5 separate regions of the Homo sapiens genome follow, and all the other regions are linked to region 3. The links are contacts of gene promoters, found by promoter capture Hi-C in human tissues and cell types (Jung and others, 2019). All regions are on one chromosome and are shown on one strand. Each heading gives the region's core, a stretch centred on a gene start or on the middle of the fragment in contact. The rest is flanking DNA. Distances are from core to core; before and after follow the strand shown. Region 1 overlaps TPTEP2-CSNK1E (TPTEP2-CSNK1E readthrough). Region 2 overlaps TPTEP2-CSNK1E (TPTEP2-CSNK1E readthrough). Region 3 holds the start of SLC16A8 (solute carrier family 16 member 8). Region 4 overlaps TPTEP2-CSNK1E (TPTEP2-CSNK1E readthrough). Region 5 overlaps DMC1 (DNA meiotic recombinase 1).

Region 1 (2,700 bases), core at 58-2,557, 260 kb before region 3:
CCCAGCCAGTGAGCCTGGGGTGTCCTTCTCGCACTCTTTGCCTCCATTTCCACATCTGCAAACTGGAGAGGCAGCTGAGCATTCAATCAGGAAGCCAAGGGGAGCGCCCTCCCAAGGATGCCTGGTGGCAGGTCCCCTTCCCTCACCATTCTGCCATCACCCTGGGCCTTGTGGGAGAGGAGCCTGCAGATTCTGTTGACCCAGTTTCCTTCTCTGTAAAATGGGGAAATTGGTCATTTAATTTAATTCGATTTATGGAATGGAAAATATTTTCACAGACATCAAAATTCAAAAGTTGGGCGGGCACGGTGGCTCACCCCTGCAGTCCCAGCACTTTGAGGCTGAGGCAGGCAAATCGCCTGAGGTTAGGAGTTCGAGACCAGCCTGGCCAACATGGTGAAACCCCATCTCTACTAAAATACAAAAAATCAGCCGGGCGTGGTGGTGCACACCTGTAATCCCAGCTACTTGGGAGGCTGAGGCAGGAGAATCGCTTGAACCTGGGAGGCGGAGGTTGTAGTGAGCCAAGATCACACCACTGCACTCCAGCCTGGGCAACAGAGTGAGACCCTGTCTCAAAAAAAAAAAAGAAGTTACCAAAGAGGGTACAGTACAGTCTCCTTCCCTCTCAGTTTCCCTTCCACCCTGTCCCCAACCTTTGTATTTTCTTTCCTAGGAACAGTCTCTTACTATTCTTAGTCATTTTTATATTATATTATTAGTATTTTTCTTATTGATTTGTAACTGCTTTTTATATACTAAAGAAAGCATGGGCTGGGTGCGGTGGCTTACGCCTGTAATCCCAGCACTTTGGGAGGCCTTGGCGGGCGGATCACGAGGTCAGGAGACCAAGACCATCCTGGTTAACATGGTGAAACCCTGTCTCTACTAAAAATACAAAAAATTAGCCGGGTGTGGTGGAGGGCGCCTATAGTCCCAGCTACTCGGGAGGCTGAGGCAGGAGAATGGCGTGAACCCGGGAGGTGGAGCTTGCAGTGAGCCGAGATTGCGCCACTGCATTCTGGCCTGGGCAAAAGAGCGATACTCTGTCTCAAAAAAAAAAAAAAAAAAAAAAGCATGACTCGCAAATATTTTTCTTCTGGGCCCATCCAGAGATGCTGTATGTACATAGAAGCAAATACACATATATTTCAAGGGGCACTTTGAATCTAAGTTTGCTGGGGCTCTTTTCAAGTCAATGGTCCGGGTGAATCTCTGTGGTCTGAATCTTGAAGCTGGAGCTAGGACCAGAGCTGGGTGACCTCTCACCATTCTGGGCTGGGAACGACTCACCCTCAGTTCCATCTCTATCCGTTTATCTTAGGCCTTTGAGGGGAGGGACTGCACCTGAGTACAGCACCCAGGCGTCTTCTGCAGCCCACAGAAGGTTCAGCTTAGGGCTGGACGCAGTGGCTCACACCTGTAATCCAAGCACTTTGGGAGGCCGAGGCGGGCAGATCATCTGATGTTGGGAGTTCGAGACCAGCCTGACCAACATGGAGAAACTCCATCTCTACTAAAAATACAAAATTAGCCGGGCGTGGTGGTGCATGCCTGTAATCCCAGCTACTTGGGAGGCTGAGGCAGGAGAATCGCTTGAACCCGGGAGGCAGACGTTGCGGCGAGTCGAGATCTCACCATTGCGCTCCAGCCTGGGCAACAAGAGTGAAACTCTGTCTCAAAAGAAAAAAAAAGAAAAGAAAAGAAGAAGAAGAAGGTTCATCTTCAGACTCCTAGTCCAGAGCTCTCAGCAATCCTCATCTTGTAATGCTGTCTACAGACTCCAAGTATGCAATGGGCCAAGCCACACCCTCTCCCTCTTCCTCCTGCCCAAGGGCAGAGATTCATGGAAGGTTGTCTGTGATGAGGAATGGAGTCGTTGCCCCGGCCCAAATCGCACCCCAGGCCTGACTCAGTTGGTGGGCCTCTGCCTTTACTGCCTTGGCAAACTCCTACACATACTTGAAGGCCCAGCTGCAGTGAAGCTCCTCTGGGAAGACTTCGTGACTCCCATCCCTTCTCTCTTATGGCTCTGATCACCTTGTCCATGTCTACACTTACCAGAGCAAGAACCGTGTTTTCTGGTTTCTCGGTCCTCCAGGATCTCCCAACGTGAATTAGCAACCGATGCATCAAAGGTGGCACCTCGGCCGGGCACGGTGGCTCACGCCTGTAATCTCAGCACTTTGGGAGGCCGAGGTGGGCAGATCATGAGGTCAGGAGATCGAGACCATCCTGGCTAACATGGTGAAACTCCGTCTCTACTAAAAATATAAAAAAATTAGCCGGGCGTGGTGGCAGGTGCCTGTAGTCCCAGCTACTGGGGAGGCTGAGGCAGGAGAATGGCGTGAACCCGGGAGGCGGAGCTTGCAGTGAGCTGAGATTGGGCCACTGCACTCCAGCCTGGGCGACAGAGCAAGACTCCGTCTCAAAAAAAAAAAGGTGGCACCACCACCATTTTGGGGCCTCCTCAGTTTCCTCATTTGAAAAGGAGGAACATAATATAAGGCCAACCACAGAGGGTTGTTGAGAGGATTAAATGAGTCAGCTCATGAAAAGCCCTTAGAACAGTCCCAGGCGCAGAGCAAGGGCACAATGTGTAGTTGCTATCGATTATGACTAGTCTTGGGATCTTGAGCAAATCCCTTCTCTTCTTCGTGGCCTCCGTTTTTTGGTTTTTGTTTTTTGTTTGAGATGGAG
Region 2 (2,700 bases), core at 77-2,576, 310 kb before region 3:
GTCTTCACATTTTTCTAACGCTTTGCAGTTTGACCTTTGCTGTTTTTTAATAACTTGTGAGATCGAAGTTTAGCAGTTGTGTTGGGTTCCTATTCCCTTTCACTTCTTACTCAAAAAAAGGAACTAATACACCACTTAGAAAAAATTTGTAGAAAACTTTTCTCCCCTTTACCCTGAGGAATCTATTTTGGTAACAGGTCAAAATTTTTTTCCACGTAGTAGGGGAGGAAGGAGGAGCAGTGAAGGTTTTGACTTTGACTGCCTTTACTTTTTTAAGGTGGGGGTAGATTTGCATTTTCTTTGTGAGCCTCCATTTTTGGCAGGAAAAGTTCAGGGAGGAGTAGGAGCCCCTAATCCCCTTCCAGTGGACTTGTTTTGGAGGAAATCTGAAAATAAGACTTAATCATCAAGTCACTTATAGACTGATGAAATAATTAAGGAATATAATGGCCTGGCAATGACTAAGTCGTTCTATCTCCTCATTGCAGGTACATGCTTATCACTTTTTTCTCTCTTAACAACGTTTATTATGAAATGGCATGTTTTCGCCACAGCAGGGTAGCCATTTCCCAACCCTGGAGCACTCTTAATTCTGAGATGCCTGATTAGAGCCTCAGGGGTCCCAAAAGATGTGCTGTTTTCCCACTTTATAAAATTACATTCTTTTCTCACAGTTGTCACAAACATGATATTGGTTGATAAGAACTTTGGAGTAGTTTTAATGACTCTTGACTGCCTGAAAGATGCCACTTTAAAAAAGGAGCTACTTTTAGCTGACTCTATTTGAAAGTAAATGATTGGACCCTTTTTATGTTTTATATGAAGCTTTGTTTCCATTTGCTTAAAAAAAAAAATTCAAATTGTCCCATTTCCTGTATGCCCATATGGCCTGTATGTTATAGATTTTGAGGTTGCTGGGTATGATTTGTTTTAAATGGTTCTTTCCTAATTTCCCATTTCAGTTTAATCCCTGAGCAGAATGTTTAATGAATGAATTGGGAAGGTGAAGCTGAAGGACTGAGCAATGGCTGTTTTCAAGCCTTAGAATTAGAAAGTAGGAATGAAAAACATGAGACAGTTGCATAAACTGAGTATTCCACTGATAAAATAAACGTAATAAGATTTTAAATCCAGTTCCTTCAATTGAAATCTAACAACAGAATAGTTTTTAGATTACTGGGATATTAAAAAATAAAAACCTGAAAGGTATTTACAGAACAGCTACCAACATGGAATTAAAGGAATCTCAATCTTGTTAAATATTCGAAAGAGTGAAGGGTTTGGTTACAGCATGTAAATTAAACTTGAGACAATGGCGGGTGGAGGGGTCTTGATCCGCACACCTCTTTTCCAGATTCTGCGGCGGGGAGGGGTGTTAAAATTAAAATGCACATGGAAGAAAAAAGTTTATTACACAAAGACGGCAGGAAATTTCTTGAATTCGGGTGAAGGAAGCCTGATTATTGAATATCACTTAATGGCCTCATTTTAGAGGCAGAATAAAAACTTTTCTGAAATGCTCATGTTTTTGGAGTAAGGTGAACTGGGTTATTTTTCCCCAACCAGTAATAACAGACAAATTTGCAGTGGTATCTGGGGCAAAGGTTTTTGAATTTAGACCACGAAGAGAGATAGAAATCTGACTTTAAGAAAGTGGAAGAACAGGGACCATTCTTTCCTAAAATCTGCAGCTCACGATGACATGCTCAATTATTGTACACATCTATCTTCCAGATAAATAGGGGGGAAGCCCCCGCTAGCCAGCTGCCGCCACATATTACCCTTTTATATTTAATGTTGGAATGCTTTCCATTTGAACATTTGTTGACTGACTGTTCTGAACATCTCCATTACTTCCTGCCCAGGGTATCAGCATAATTGAGTTACTGGAAATTTGGGGACAGTTTGGTAATTTTATGATAAAGTTGAGAAGTAAAATTACTAAACCTGAAAGGGCAGCTGAAGAAGTTGTATGAGAGAGTTAGTTGGATTCCTTACTTAGCCTTTGTTCTTATTAAGCTTTACAAAACTTGTTTCTGACCTCCACATGACTGTACTTCCTATAGAAAAGCTCCCCCAGACTCAGAAGCTAGGTTTTTAACAGACTCGTGTAGTGTTTCTGTATTGGTGTTCCATTATTTTCTGGTGTGTCTGGAAACCTTTGGAATTTAAAATGTAGTTAAATGGACTGGAAATGTAGACTCTAGACATTTCTTGAATCAGCATTAGGAATAATAGTTACTTTTACTTCTACCTCTATCAAATAAGGATAACATAAAGCATCTCAGTTATACTGAAGAAGTGTTTCTTTCTTTTGTAATCAATATAGAGTTTTTCTTCAGTTTATAAATCGACTGAACAATGATTGTATTATTAATTGAAAGGAGACTTTCCCCCTTGATTTTGAAAGCAAACAGGTGACTGGAAAGAGCCAGATATACAACTTTAGTATGTAGTCAGCAAAAGATAGGATGGGGAGGGGAATATTTAAATCTTGCAGAAGAATGATCTTATGCCTTAAAAGGCATTGCCTAAGCTTGTATTTAGCTAGGTTACTTGAATTGTGTTTAATTCAGAGCGCTCATTGGAAAAAGTGGTATGGTGTACTGGTCTAGTAGTGGGTATAGTTATTTGTGTGTGTATATATATATAGATAGATGTGTGTATACACACGTTCAGTGTTTTCATTGCAGAGAGTTA
Region 3 (2,700 bases), core at 86-2,585:
AAGATGAAGCGGGGCAAGGAGTGGATGGAGACCAAATAGGGGCAGGAGGCAGGACCCAGCTCAGTTGCCCAGCTGCCTTCCTGAGCCATGGCCAGGTGGGGATCATCTGCCCTTCTCACCCCATTCTCTCTCTCCTCCTACAGGGGCACAAATCCTTTTGCCACTGTCAAGCTTCGTCCCACCATCACCAATGACCGCTCAGCACCCCTCATCCGCTGAGGCGGGGTCCGAGGTCGTACCCCACAGTGCACCTGCCCAGGGGCTGTTCAGAGCTGGCAATGGCAGCGACAGCAGCAACAGCAGCAGATCCAAGAAGCGGGTCCCTGAGACGGGGGGTGGCTGCCCTCCCCAGACCACCCCGGCAGCCTGAGCAGCTCCAAAGCACTGGCTTGGGGTCCGAGACCTTCAAAGTAAAGCAGGCGGAATGGGGGGACAGGACAATTTCTCCCCCTCCAGGGGCTCCAGGACTCTCCCTGGGGGGCCCACCTCTTGCCCCCTAACCTCTTTCCCCCTTTTCTGCCCCCGTGGGGAGGAGCCCCTTGTACCTGCTCCGTGCCCAACACATGCCCTCTCTGTACATCTTTTGTAAATGATGAGAAATAAAGGAAGTGGACGCAAAGTGATGCGGCAGCAGGACTGGTGGTGTCTTATTTGGGGGACAGGGCAGGGGGTGAGGGATAGAGACTCCCCCATTGGAGAATGGGGTCTAGGGGGTACTGAGGTCCTGGCTGTTCCCCGGGAAGCCATCTCACTCCCAGCCCCTTGTTTGTTTGTTTGGAGAACTCTTTAGGGCTGCCCCAAAGCCCTCGCGCTGCAGCCCCCATCTCCACCTGCTCTCATTTCGACCTGTGGGTTTCCTAGGAAGTAGCGGCTGCTCGGGTCAGGGGAGAGGTGGCAGTGGCCAAGGGCTGGGACCACCAGCAAGCTGCCCTCAGGCGGCCTGGACACAGCACCCTTTGTTTTGGCCCCTCCCCCCCCCACATTCCCAGGCACAGGCGTGGATTAGCTTCATTCTAGAGAAAGCTGCCAGCCCCTCCTGGAATGTGGCCTGGGGCGGGGGGTTGGGGCGGGGGCAGATGAGGCACTGAGGTGATTAGAACCGTTGGGGTCTCTTCAGGGCAGGGCTGTGCCCCCAGCACCAGACTAGGACCCCCTGGGCAAGGTCTCTGTGTCTACCACCCCAGGCTCCAGGAGGCACAGGGATTCTCTTCCTCCCTCCTGGACTGGCTTGGGACAGGGAGCCCACCGCCGAGGCCCAGCCTGGCCTGGGGCTCCCAGTCTCTTCTCCCCTCCTGGACAAAAGCCTCTTAGCAGGGGTGAGGTGTGGTGGGGGCACACACTCTAAGCTCCAGGCCTGGGGCAGGGAGCGTCAGGCGGGAGTCGGCCAGAGGCTCAGCCCAGGCTGGTGGGAAGCTGGGGTGTCTGGCAGCCCCCATCCGGGTAAGCTTCACCGGGAGCTGCGGCGGCGGCCCCTCCCTGCAGGCCTCAGGAGATGTGAGGCTGGACCCCCAAACCCACGAGGCAGGCTCAGGTGAGTGTGATGTGAGGGCTGCCTGGGATCACCCTCCTGTCTCCACCTTCAAGTGGCTGCCCCTGTGACAAGAGGACAACAGGCAGGAAAAGCCACAACCTGGTCCTAGTGGAGGAGGGGCAGAGTCCCGGATACCCTGGGGGTGGTGGCACTGCCCAGTGCCAGGAGGGACACTCCAGGCAGGAGGGCAGGAGGCTATCCCCAGCCCCCGGCTCCTGGTGCACCTGTCTCTGAGTACACCCTCCTCATCTGTTATGGGGGCGCTTGTAACTGCTGTGAGGGCCCCGGGTGGAGCCCCAGGAATGAGACAGGCTTTGGAGCCATTCTTTTCATATAGAGGGTTTGAGGTTTGGAGGGCAGAAGGCCACTCTCTCAGTGCTGCTAAGGTTCCTACCTGTCTGGCAGAAGCCAGAGACCTGACTCCTCTCCCGCAAGATTCCCAGCTGGCCTCGGGGTGATCAATCACCCATCTTACATCGGAGGAAAGGGAGGTTGGGAGAGGGGAGGCGACCGGCCCAAGTCAGGGAGGGAATCCATGGCTGAGCTGAGATGCATGGGAACTCAGCTCCCCTGGCTGATATCTGTTGAAAGTGGCTTTTGTCCCCTTAATGTTCTAATGACAATAGTCATTTGTGATCACTGAGAAACATTAGGAACATGGCGGAAGGCTAAAGAGGAAAATCACGCACAGCGGCCCTTTGCAGCCGGCATCTGCCCCTCTGCTGTTTGTTCTGTTGTCCCGAGACCCTCACGCGTACGGGGCGACTTTGGTGCTGGACGCCCACCTCCAGGCACATACCTGCTCCACTTCCCGACGCCTTCCACCTGAGGCCCTGAGGGGCCAGCAGTTGTCCTTCAGAGGGAGCCTGCAGAGGTGCAGAGTCAGGTGGGACCCGTCGTCCTCCCCTCGTCCTTCAGCGCCCTTTGCAGGAGAAGGAGACTTGGGGTGAGAGTCCTACCTCCGTTTCCCCTTTTGGTTCCCAGACCTGAGCCACCCTCACGTGGGTAGCCCTGTGCCTCAGTTTCCCCATGCTTCGTCTCCATCCCCCTCCTTCTCTAGGCTGCTGGCCCAGCCCCTCCCTCTTGTCCCCGCCCCCTCCCAACAGAGGCAGCGATGGGCGCTGGCGGCCCCCGGCGGGGCGAGGGCCCCCCAGACGGCGGCTGGGGCT
Region 4 (2,700 bases), core at 159-2,658, 280 kb before region 3:
AAGAAGGAAAAAGGGAAACTATGGAAAGATATCAAAATGTATGGGTGGGAGGGTACACCGTATTTACTCCAGTTGAATTCTTAGACAAGTATTATTTTGAAAAAAAATTCCATCCATTCAGAAATAAATGTTCTTCTAGCTTGAAAATGTAAAAAGTATTCTTAGAGGAAATTAATTCCATTAAAAGTTTTTTTAAAAAAAACAGGAATGCAGAATGCTACTTAACTCATCAATAGTGAACGTTTCTCATTTTTACTGGATATGGTGTGATTCCCAATTTTGTAGATTTTGCCTATGAGCAAATAGTATTGATAGCAAAAGCAAACATATTTTGCTGACTAAAGACCTCTTTATGCTCATTGGGATTTTATTCTTATTTGTTTCTAATCTCACTAGAGTACTTCCTGTTGCACTGACCTGAAGGCATTTTATCATGTACTTACTGTAATGAAACAATACATTCTTAAACTGGCTTGTGTCTGAACTGCAGACATATTCAGGAGATTTTTCTTCTGCTTCTTTCTTGCCCAGTTGTATAACCATTCACCAGCTTGTGTCAATGCTGGAGAGGAAGTACGGCCATAGAGGAAGTTAACTCACCATGGTTGTAAGCTGTTGGTGTCTAAACAAAGATTGGAAACAAAGAGGGCAAATACAAGTAGTTCTTCAAATTACCCTGAATTTGCCACTGAATTAAACTGTGTGTCTGCAGATTAGCTATACGTTTTCTGTAATGGAGCTGCCCAGGGCTGAAACAAAATTAGATTAAGCAAGGCAAGCATTTCCTTCTTTCCTGACTCCAAACAAAATAAAGCAGGTTTTCATTTTATTTTATTTTTAAATTACAAAGTCTCATTACGTAGATATAGGAGGAATTTGCAATAGTCCCTGTGAGAAATGCTGGTGTTTCATACCAGGGGGATGATACTGGATTTATAGTAAAAGCTGGAATCAGTGCTTGGCTTTGGCATATCATATATTCATTCACCTGATACTCAGCAAGTCACTAACCCTCTTTAACTTTCAGATTATTCAAATGTAAACTGGCTATAATGCAATCTATGTACTGGATATTGTATTGTAAAAAATTAGTAATAAAACGAAAATAACATGCAAAAATACTTCGAAAACTCTGTAGATCTGTAAATAGGTTTTATTCTAAAAACTGAAAATAACGTAAGAGGTCATTAAAGGAAAATCAGAAAATACAATCAACAAATCTACCCACATATAGTCATTCTTAAGCTTTGATGCATGCACTTCTAAGTTCTTCAAGCATATACTTTTTTTGTTTACAGATATGAGACCATACTTATTCTTTTGTAAATAACCTTATTAATGACATCATTTTTTTTGTTAATATATATTCATGTGCACTTACAACATTATTTGTAACAGTTGTGTGATATTTCATGGTGTAGATGTGCTATATATAATTTATTTAATAGTCAGATATTGCTGAACAATTAAGTTTTTTACAAGTTTTTAACTGTTACAAAAATGAATATATTTGAGGCTAAATCTCTGTATATTGTTGGTTATTTGCTTGTTATAAATTCTCAGAAGTGGAAATTCTGTGTCAAAGGGAATGATTGTGACGCTATTGATACTGATATGTGCTTTAACATCAAGATGCAAAGTGTACATTTCTCCCCTCCCACACTTAACACTAGCCATCATTGATTTCTCTGATATTAGTAAATATATTTGTTCTAATGCACGTTCTTTGACACACCTTCATTTATCCTTTTCTGTCTTTGGACTGAAAAGTTAAATCTATTGATCCTTTTTCTATTTTATGTAATATAAGCAATTTCTCCCAGGTTGTCTTGCTTTTCACTATATAAAAGCATTTCATCCTCATGTAATCAAATGTATCTGTACTTTTCTTTGTGATTTTGCCTTTAATGTTATTCTCAGAAAGTCCTTCTTACCCCAAGATTTTAAACATATTCACCAAAATTTCTGTTTTGAATTTATTTTCTTCATTTAAATAAAATATCTGCCCTGAATTTACTTTGTCTTAAGGTATAAAGTGTAGAAATTTACTTTTCTCCTAAGTGACTCATAGTTTTTTCAGCATGAACATGTCATCCCCCTGTATTGTCCTTACCCTGTTTTAGTGATCTAGAGGGAGCAGGAAGACCAGAGTCACTACAGTGTTTTTCGTGCTTTTCATCATGGCCACCTCCCTACCCCCAGAGTCTGCACAAGAGAAAAATGTGTCCAGTGGGAGAGATAGCACCTGCCTTCAATACAAATCCCATTTCATTAAACATGGTCTTGTTAGTGTCATGTAGCTTCCACCTTCTATTGATAAAAAATGAGTCATGTTCATAGTTAATATTTTTGCTTTTAATTCAACTTTGATATTAATATTGGAACTTTTAAGTGTTTTAAGGTTTAGTATCTCATATCTTTTTTTCTCTCTCTTTTTTTTTTTTTGAGCCGGAGTCTCGCTCTGTCACCAGGCTGGAGTGCAGTGGCGCCACTCAGCTCACTGCAACCTCCGCTTCCCAGGTTCAAGTGATTCTCCTGCCTCAGCCTCGTGAGTAGCTGGGACTACAGGCACGCACCACCACGCCCAGCTAATTTTTTGTATTTTTAGTAGAGATGGAGTTTCACCATGTTGGCCAGGATAGTCTCGATCTCTTGACCTCATGATCCACCCACCTTGGCCACCCAAAGTGCTGGGATTAC
Region 5 (2,700 bases), core at 119-2,618, 460 kb before region 3:
ATTTCTAGGTCTTTAATTTTATTTGTAGCTATTGTAAATGGGATTAATTTTTGAATTTCTTTTTCAGATTGTTCCCTGTCGGTATTTAGAAATGCTGCTGATTTTTGTATGTTGATTTTGTATCCTGCAACTTTACTGAATTTGTTTATCAGTTCTAATAGCTTTTTGGTGGAGTCTGGGTTTTTCCAAACATAAGATCTTATTATCAGCAAACAAGGATAATTTGACTTCCTCCTTTTCAATCTGGATGACCTTTATTTATTTCTCTTGTCTGATTGCTCTAGCTAGGACTTTGAGAATTATGTTGAATAACAGTGGTGAAAGTGGGCATACTTGTTCCAGATCTTAGAGGAAAGACTTTCAGTTTTTCCCCATCTAGTATGATACTAGCTGTGGGTCTGTTGTGTATGGTTTTTATGTTGGGTTATGTTCCTTCTATACCCAATTTTTTGAGGGTTTTTTTTTTATCATAAATGAACGTTGAATTTTATCAAATGCTTTTTTCAGCATCAATTGAAATGATCATATGTTTTTTGTCCGTTCTGTTGATATATCACATTGATTTGTATATGTTGAACCATCCTTGCATCCCTGAGACGAATCCTACTTGGTCATGATGAATGATCTGTTTAATGTATTGTTGAATTTGGTTTGCTAGTATTTTGTTGAGGATTTAAGCCCAAGTTTTACACCCGCGGTCACATTGTTCCCAGACCAAACTGAGGATCAGGCTGCTTATTCTTATGGCCCAATAATGAGATGCAAATGAACTGGGAAAGGAGGGAGTTTTTGTTTCCGTAACCGGTTACAGGGAGAAGACCTGGAAAATAACACCAGACCAACTCAAAATTACAAAGTCTTCCAGAACTTATATACCTTCTCAGCTATATGTTTATTGTAAGTGTGCATTCATCTAACGACATAAGTCACTTTGAGAGGCCGAGGTGGGTGGAACACTTGAAGTCAGGAGTTCAAGACCATCCTGGCCAACATGGCGAAACCTTGTCTCTACTAAAAATACAAAAATTAGCTGGGCATGGTGGCACACGCCTGTAGTCCCAGCTACTCAGGATGCTCAGGCAAGAGAATCACTTGAACCAGGGAGGCAGAGGTTGCAGTGAGCCGAGATTGTGCCACTGGACTCCAGCCTGAGCAACAGAGTGAGACTCCATCTCAAAAAAATAAAATAAAAATTTTTAAAAATATATAAGTGATTAACTTCTTTTGATCTATAACTAAGATCTGAGTCCTAAAGACATTCCTCTGGAGCCTCAGTAAATTTACTTAATCTAAATGGGTCCAGGTGCTGGGGTGATTACCCTTATCTTATCTCCTGCTAAATCATGGAGGTTTGGGGAGTTCCTTCAGACCCCCAATAACTTGTTTGTGGAGACCTAGGGAGTTTCTTCAGGCCCCCAGTAAAACTCGTTTAATCCTAAACAGGTACTGTTAAGAATTTCTTCATTATCTTGTCATGCTTCAAGGCCCAGGAAAGGCCTGGGCAAAACTCTTGGTGGCCTTTTGTTACATTCCAGCCTTTGTATAAGGGCACTTTCAGCTTTTAATATTTAACTTAACCACTCAGTCAGTGCTGAAACAGTTGTTATGGAGGCCTGCATTAGTAAGACCTGGCCTGCCACAACATAGTATCTGGGATTTGTAGAAACCGACATGATGAAAATGTTTTTATTGCCTCTTCCAATTCCCTGTCTAACTTGTCCACCAAAAACATCTACTGGGTATACTCAATAACAATGGAAGATTTTTGTGGCTGTCACCAAAGCTCTAACAACAAGAACATATCTAGTGCATTAGGATATAAATGGCTGGGAATTTAAATTAATTGCAAACATCACAAATAAGATTATAAATGGTCCTTGATTTACAGTTACTTATACTGGGATCAGTGTTATGTAAACACTATAAACAAAGTGAAATAAGGTTACAAACATGCATTTAATTTTACCTCATTTTACTTCAGACATATTGTTGGGATCACCAAAGACCTAAAAAAAATGTTTATTACTCCTTTATAGTTTATAGGTATAAGTGATTATTAGCTTCTTCCAGAATACTTTTGCAGGTGCACTTAGTTTGCTTCCCTATGAATTTGCTAATTTCAGAAAGCTAACAACTCCTGGCTAGGCATGGTGGCTCATGCCTGTAATCCTATCACTTTGGGAGGCCGAGGCAGGCATATCACTTGAGGTCAGTAGTTTGAAACCAGCCTGGCCAACATGGTGAAACCCCGTCTCCACTAAAAATACAAAAATTAGCTAGGTATGATGGCTCGCGCCTGTAATCACAGCTACTCAGGAGACTGAAGGAGGAGAAAACAAAAAAAAAGCTAACAACTCCTTTAGAAGAAAGTAGATTTTAAACTGTATATACTTTCCAGGTAAGATTTGAAAAGAAAAAGAAAACCTATGCCAACAAAAAACCTTTGGTCGATATTTCTCTTCTGGGCCCTTGAAGTTACCTTTTTGACCCTTTGGTTCATGTAGTCAAATTTATCATTTAACAACATGTGATTAATAATATAATAAACTATTTCATATTGAGGAATGAGGGGTATGAAGAGAGTGAATTAATTCACTTTGCAGTTATTGAATTATAATTCAGTGATATTATCTATTACAGGTCTATTTTTATAGATCTGAGAACAAAAGGACTCACAAAGCTTAGTTCCTAGTTTTTCTC

What was found. The method cuts DNA at HindIII sites, captures the fragments that hold promoters and counts their contacts. A contact is called where the count stands out against the background at its distance.
Region 1: a fragment that was not itself captured here is called in contact with the fragment with the promoter of SLC16A8 in region 3 in 1 of the 25 tissues and cell types used here (dorsolateral prefrontal cortex).
Region 2: a fragment that was not itself captured here is called in contact with the fragment with the promoter of SLC16A8 in region 3 in 1 of the 25 tissues and cell types used here (dorsolateral prefrontal cortex).
Region 4: a fragment that was not itself captured here is called in contact with the fragment with the promoter of SLC16A8 in region 3 in 1 of the 25 tissues and cell types used here (spleen).
Region 5: a contact is called between a fragment that was not itself captured here and the fragment with the promoter of SLC16A8 in region 3, in 2 of the 25 tissues and cell types used here (dorsolateral prefrontal cortex and lymphoblastoid cells).

The regions. Positions count from the first base shown.
Region 1 is chr22:38,343,366-38,346,065 of GRCh38, reverse strand. All of the region lies in intron 4 of TPTEP2-CSNK1E (TPTEP2-CSNK1E readthrough), which reads left to right. It also overlaps the pseudogene TPTEP2. Among named protein-coding and RNA genes, the nearest start is that of CSNK1E, 27 kb to the right of the region's middle. RefSeq lists an enhancer at 1,059-1,558. The HindIII fragment of the contact is 5,046 bases long and covers 1-2,700 here.
Region 2 is chr22:38,392,925-38,395,624 of GRCh38, reverse strand. All of the region lies in intron 1 of TPTEP2-CSNK1E (TPTEP2-CSNK1E readthrough), which reads left to right. It also overlaps the pseudogene TPTEP2. Among named protein-coding and RNA genes, the nearest start is that of TPTEP2-CSNK1E, 4.6 kb to the left of the region's middle. The HindIII fragment of the contact is 3,049 bases long and covers 1-2,700 here.
Region 3 is chr22:38,082,819-38,085,518 of GRCh38, reverse strand. It overlaps SLC16A8 (solute carrier family 16 member 8), which reads left to right and starts at 1,335. Exons shown (of 6, transcript NM_013356.3): 1 at 1,335-1,531; 2 at 2,158-2,477; 3 at 2,638-2,700. The coding sequence starts at 2,646. BAIAP2L2 (BAR/IMD domain containing adaptor protein 2 like 2) reads left to right here. Exons shown (of 14, transcript NM_025045.6): 14 at 144-619. The coding sequence ends at 219. RefSeq lists an enhancer at 1,070-1,851. The HindIII fragment of the contact is 9,296 bases long and covers 1-2,700 here.
Region 4 is chr22:38,367,211-38,369,910 of GRCh38, reverse strand. All of the region lies in intron 3 of TPTEP2-CSNK1E (TPTEP2-CSNK1E readthrough), which reads left to right. It also overlaps the pseudogene TPTEP2. Among named protein-coding and RNA genes, the nearest start is that of TPTEP2-CSNK1E, 30 kb to the left of the region's middle. The HindIII fragment of the contact is 7,743 bases long and covers 1-2,700 here.
Region 5 is chr22:38,539,785-38,542,484 of GRCh38, reverse strand. The region is part of intron 8 of DMC1 (DNA meiotic recombinase 1); the gene reads left to right. Among named protein-coding and RNA genes, the nearest start is that of DMC1, 29 kb to the left of the region's middle. The HindIII fragment of the contact is 5,470 bases long and covers 1-2,700 here.